2 separate regions of the Homo sapiens genome follow, and region 2 is linked to region 1. The links are contacts of gene promoters, found by promoter capture Hi-C in blood cells and fetal thymus (Javierre and others, 2016). All regions are on one chromosome and are shown on one strand. The core of a region is centred on a gene start or on the middle of the fragment in contact, and the rest is flanking DNA. Distances in the headings are between cores, read along the strand shown. Region 1 holds the start of CALCRL (calcitonin receptor like receptor). Region 2 has its middle 75 kb from the start of ZSWIM2.

Evidence for each region. Contacts are between HindIII fragments. The CHiCAGO score rates a contact against its expected background, and 5 or more counts as called.
Region 2: a contact is called between a fragment that was not itself captured here and the fragment with the promoter of CALCRL in region 1, in 4 of 17 cell types (megakaryocytes, erythroblasts, M0 macrophages and 1 more). The highest score is 8.1, in megakaryocytes.

The regions. Positions count from the first base shown.
Region 1 is chr2:187,446,593-187,449,574 of GRCh38, forward strand. CALCRL (calcitonin receptor like receptor) reads right to left here and starts at 1,660. Exons shown (of 15, transcript NM_005795.6): 1 at 1,447-1,660. All of the region lies in intron 2 of CALCRL-AS1 (CALCRL and TFPI antisense RNA 1), which reads left to right. The HindIII fragment of the contact is 1,657 bases long and covers 1,556-2,982 here.
Region 2 is chr2:186,922,942-186,926,264 of GRCh38, forward strand. No RefSeq gene overlaps it. Among named protein-coding and RNA genes, the nearest start is that of ZSWIM2, 75 kb to the left of the region's middle. The HindIII fragment of the contact is 8,964 bases long and covers 1-3,323 here.

The DNA of each region.
Region 1 (2,982 bases), core at 410-2,909:
TTTGTTACTAACCCACGTCATTGGGTTAGTAAATGTGTTGTTTCCACTTTCTCCCCCATTTATATAATGGCTAAAGTCACATTCTAAAAACACTTTTCCCATTTCTACACATGTGTCAGGGAACTCAGTACAACTGAAGATTGAAAAGAGAGAGAAATCAGCCATGATACTCTTAAAGAATCACAAATCTAAGAATTAATTTAAATTTTCATTATATTGAGGAATTTGTGGAAAAATTGAGTTGTAAATTACTGAGGAGTTACTCAGGATGTTTGTAGTCTATTATTAATGTGCCAGATATAAGTGATTAAGTACAGGATGCTTCCAATGCAGGACATCTTGGAAAGTATAATTGCATTTAGGTAAGAAAATATATAACTTAAAAATCATATCTATCAACATCATTTAAAATTTGACATCAAACTTTCTCCAGCAACAAATTTGTGATATATCTACACAAACAATTTATTAAGCAGACATTAGTTTCTTAAATTGTTCAGGACAGTCTGTACTATCGGAATGAGCATTAACAGATGTTTTATCCAACATTTCAGTAAGTTCCATCCTGGAAATTCTTTTTTAATAAATACTTTAATTTCTTTGTTTAATCGTCTAATATACTTCTTTGGGAAAGCTGTCACGTTTCTTTATCCACAGATATCGTGGTATCACACCCCCCTCCAAAAGCTTGCAGAGGGGAACCAGTCAAGTTGAAGTATTCTCTTAAAGATTTCAAAATTAAGAATTGTTTTAAAAATCTACATTTCCTAAACTCTAGGTTTTTTTTTTTCTTTGTAGCCGACACCATGATCCAAATAAAGAGCAAACAGTTCAGGGTTAGCAGAAGAGAGATTTAAACACATCTGGCAACAATGAACACAAAAATTAGTTCAGTAGTTACAGATATATGTGTAAATAAAGGTGAAAGGCAAATAAAAGCAAATGTAATAAATACAAAGTGATTACTTTTCAAAACTCTGCATTATGATCAACCACAGAGTAAGTGAGACTCCGAGACCCATTAAGTAGTTATTCTTTCACCTCTTTCTTACAGCTGATAACATGGAAAGTTTAAAGACCCTTCCGGGGGGAGAAATGTTTTCCAGTTGTCAAGATTCAAGCTTAGCTAATATTAGAGCTAATTTTAAAAGACATTGTTCTGTGATTAAGGTATTTGTTCAGAAATATGTCTTTTAATCCATTTAGATTTTTAATACTTGCTAAATTTATTTTCTAGAATACCATGGTAAACAATATTATCTAGTAGTATTAGATTTTGTATTCATGTTGGGGTAGTAGGCTGTATTTTCTCTAGCATGTGAAATAAGTGAGACTATGTTTCAACATTATTTCAGTGCTATCTACTAAATTCTATAATAGAAACATTGCCAAACTATATGAGAATACTACTTAGAATAAATATATTTATTTTGAATGTGCACTTACCCAGTCCAGCTCTTAAGGAAATTCTTTGTGAAATATTCTCAGGATGGAACTTTACTTTCTGAGATTCCGCAGAAGAGATTTACCCACAAGCAAGGTGGGAAAGAGTGAAAGCTTTGCAATGTGATCCTGCAATTAGGATGAGATTCAGTTAGCAGAGCTTGATGGTCCTAAAGCAGGAGGTGACACTCTCTGCTGGAGAGAGAGAGGTTGTTCTGAGTAGATTGTAAGTGTTGTCAGATTGTAAGTGATCAGCAGCAGAAGGGAAACATCAGAGCTTCCTGTTACATCACTCTGACCCCGCCTGCAGTTAGTGTTAGGTTACTTTCTTTCTCAAATAGCATACCCCAGGAAAGCAGCACTCCTTTCTTATTGTGAGACAAGAGCAAGAAGCAGCCTGAACAGAGAGAGATCATAGGCTGTGTGAATACATTGTTACCAGTAAAAAGCTGGCTGGCTTTCACCTTGACTGAGTTCTGTTAGAACTTGCCAAACAAGCTACTTGTGATTTGAAGGAAATCTGAATATAGTATTCTGCTCAAAGAATCAAAGGAGTTAGGCGTGTGTGTGTGTGTGTGTGTGTGTGTGTGTGTGTGTGTGTTGAATTATAGCTTACAAAGTATCCAGGAAAAAAAATCTAACAAATCTGTGTTCATAGCACAACACAGAAAAAAAAATTAACTGTATTCATCATAACTGGTTTTGTGATTTGGCTCTTCTTAATTTGGAGCTCTGCTAATTGGGTGCTGTTCCTCCATCAGTTCCTAAGTGCAGTTCCTAATCAGTTAATTAGATCAAGAAACTTTATCCTGCAGTTTTTAAATCTTTTATTTTTTCCTTTACCTTCTTCATAAGAACATGAGTGTATGTGTTATAAATTCAGGTTGTGTATGTGTGTGTATAGAGTGTTTCTTTTATAATATATAAGTATATATATTTGACAAAATAGCCTTTTGAATAATTCATAATTTTAAAATTATTGCACACATTTAAAAATATTTGGTATAATTATGTTATTTATAATATAAAATAATTTATACCACAATATTTGTAAGTCAATATAATCTTAAAGAAAATATAGATGTTGTAAACATAATATTATAAAATAATATAAATACAAAGGATACTTTATTTCTTAGACAAAATTTCATCTCAAAGCATAGTTTTTCCTGAATATGTTTAATACATCATTGGATATGATCAGGGGAAAATGTAAATTTAAAATGCTTTTATCATTTTTATAATTTGGTAAATGTTCGATATGAAGCAATAATTATAATCCCTATAACCTAAACAGCACTAAAAGTCACTTAATTTATCAGGGCATAAATTTTCTCATCTATAAACTAGAAGAGATAGATTTTATGTCTAAGGCTTTGAATCGACAAATTTCATAACATTTTGAAATAGATAAGATACGGTGAGGATCATTCAACTCTTAGTAAATTGTTAGTGCAATTCCAGGATAAAATGAGGTGCCATACACCTTGTAGGCAGACAAAGGAGGTAAAGGCAAAATAAATTCAGGAATATCATGTT
Region 2 (3,323 bases), core at 128-2,627, 520 kb before region 1:
TGTCCAACAATGATAGACTGGATTAAGAAAATGTGGCACATATACACCATGGAATACTATGCAGCCATAAAAAATGATGAGTTCATGTCCTTTGTAGGGACATGGATGAAAGTGGAAATCATCATTCTCAGTAAACTATCGCAAGAACAAAAAACCAAACACCGCATATTCTCACTCATAGGTGGGAATTGAACAATGAGATCACATGGACACAGGAAGGGGAATATCACACTCTGGGGACTGTTGTGGGGTGGGGGGAGAGGGGGAGGGGTAGCATCGGGAGATATACCTAATGCTAGATGATGAGTTAGTGGGTGCAGCGCACCAGCATGGCACATGCATACATATGTAACTAACCTGCACAATGTGCACATGTACCCTAAAACTTAAAGTATAATAAAAAATAAAAAAAAAAAGACCCAGCAAAACAGCCCAATTAAAAACTCTATGTTGGCCCAGCATGGAGGCTCACGCCTGTAATCCCAGCACTTTGGGATGCCGAGGCAGGTGGATCACGAGGTCAGGAGATCAAGACCATCCTGGCTAGCACGGTGAAACCCTGTCTCCACTAAAAACACACACACACAAAATTAGCCGGGCGTGGTGGTGGGCACCTGTAGTCCTAGCTACTCGGGAGGCTGAGGCAGAAGAATGGTGTGAACCCGGGAGGCAGAGCTTGCAGTGAGCCAAGAGTGCGCCACTGCAATCCAGCCTGGGTGACAGAGCGAGACTCCATCTCAAAAACAAAAACAAAAACAAAAAAAACCACAACCCTATGTTCGCCATCGTAAGGCACTGCTTTAGGAACTATCCTGGGCATCCTCCTTACAAGTAGTGAATCCCCTTGTGAAATCCACCCTGGTTGTGGTCATTGGACTGTCAGTTGCCAAGTGATGGAACCCACTGGTTGTGTGTGTCCAAGAATTTTATAATAAATCATAAATTTTCAAGCCTAGGTCTGTCTGATTACAAAGTTTAAGCAAGTGATTTTCAAACTGTAGTGCATGTCAAAATCATCTGAAGGGCTTGAGGAAACAAACAAACAAACAAACAGAAAACAGATTTCATGGCAACCCATCCCTAGCAGGTGTTACTGGGGTCTTAGAATCTGAATTTTAATAAGTACACCAAGTGTTTCTGATGTTGATGGCTCACTGAGCATACTTTAAAAATTATTGACTGCTCTTATTTTTCATGTTATACTACTGATTACTATTCTACATAGCTTTTTTGATTTTTATTTGTACTACAATTTAACTTTTCATTAAAATATTGTGTGTGAGTGTGTCTATTATATTGTAAGTAGGCTTTAACTGCTACAATTGTCATATACTTATTTTTGTATATTCTGTAGAACCCAATGCCTATCCTTGAAATATTGGGGCCTCCTAAATATTTGAACTGAATTGATACAAGGCAAGAAATCATAATTTCCAGATGTTTGCTGTTTAGTAGACCTATGTACCTGAAATCTGAGTATTGCAATGGCAGAAAGTAGTGAGGGTACATTTTTGGATGGACCTGTCTTGGTAAGGAGGTGAGACTCACAAAGCAGATTAGCAGTATGAAGATTATATATATATGTATACATATATATATATGAAAGTAAATATGAATAGAGTATAATGGCTTTGTTTTAAAATGAGCTAAAATTGGAAAATTTGGAATAGAGGGTTCTTGATAGAGGACTTTCAATGCTAGGGTATGGAATAAACACTTTATCTTAAAAGCCAAAGGTTGCTACTACAGGTTCTTGAGCAAGGAAATGAAAAGCTGAGAGCAGTGTGAGAGATTATGTTACTAAACTTCTGCAGTATTAAAAGCAAGGTGAAAGAAACAAAACTGTTACAATAATTTAAGAAATAGATGATAAAAACATGGAATATAATGATGTTTAGAAAAACATCTTCAAATTTGGGGTAGTAGGTAAAAGATTTGTCAGGACTTTGGTATATTATCTTTCAACTAAACACTTTTTTTTTAAGTTGAAAGGCAATTTAGACCCTCAACTCATCTCTCAATTTTAAGATTTTTAAAGAGGTAATTATGAAGCATATATAATTAACTAGCCATGGTGCTAGATAATATTGATTCAAAGATTAATAAAATACAGTTCCTGCATTTAAGAAGTTTACAAGTTGGGGGCTGGGCATGGTGGCTCACAACTGTAATCCCAGCACTTTGGGAGGCCGAGTCGGGTGGACCACTTGAGGTCAGGAGTTTGAGACCAGCCTGGCCAACATGGCGAAACCCCGTCTCTACTAAAAATATAAAAATTAGCTGGGCATGGTGGTGGGTGCCTGTAATTCCAGTTATTCAGGAAGCCGAGGCAGGAAAATCGCTTGAACCGGGGAGGTGGAGTTTGCAGGGAGCCAAGATGGTGCCACTGCACTCGAGCCTGGGCAACAGAATGAGACCCTGTCTCAAAAAAAAAAAAAAAAAAGTTCACAAATTGGAAGGAGTCAGACATTCTTAAGACATTGTGCATTATATATGTTTAACAGAGAAAATGAGCTAATTAACTAGACTCACATAAAAGAATTATCTCAAAAATGATATATTTTCAATTACTTATATGTAAAACATTTTGTCAAATTACTATTTATAAATTTATAGTCATTTGTATGCTTCAAAATGTTTTGAAATATACAATTTAATTATATATTAGTGGGTTTCATAGGCAAGAAAGAGGGAAGTAGCTCCCTGTACAGAGACAGAAGGAAGTGGGCCCCAAGCAGAGAGAGGGATCCCCAAGTGTGGGGGTGGGGGGTGGGGAACAGCCAGTTATATTAGGAAGCTGGAGGAGGTGGTGTCTGATTTGCATAGGGTCCAGGAGATTGGTCTGACCAAGTATGTCATTTATGTAGCCTGGGAAAAAACTGGCCCCCCAACCTTGCCTTTTAATGTGCAAATGTACATTAATATGCTATTTGCAATGTGCTATTGCAAACCAAATATACCGAATCTCTTTTCTGATAGTTTTTAAAAACTGAGCTCAGGAAAATGTGAATCAAATGATAAAACAAACTTTTTATTGGTCTCACTGATCCAAAAGCTCTTCCTATTGAAAAGTCTACTATTTGTATATTTTCATTATATGCTTCTTAAAAATGAAGTTAAATTGTAATACTGAAATGTACTCTACTTGTCTTATGATTTTGTTGTTTAGCTTAAAACTTTTAAATACATGTAATGAGGTAAATTAATATTAAAATGTGTTTCCATGTTAGTAAACTAATAACCTGACAGGTCAATGTTTTAAAACTTTTAAGTTGGAATGAGATTTTATACTGTTTGTAGTAGAGAAACTGATTTAATAATTT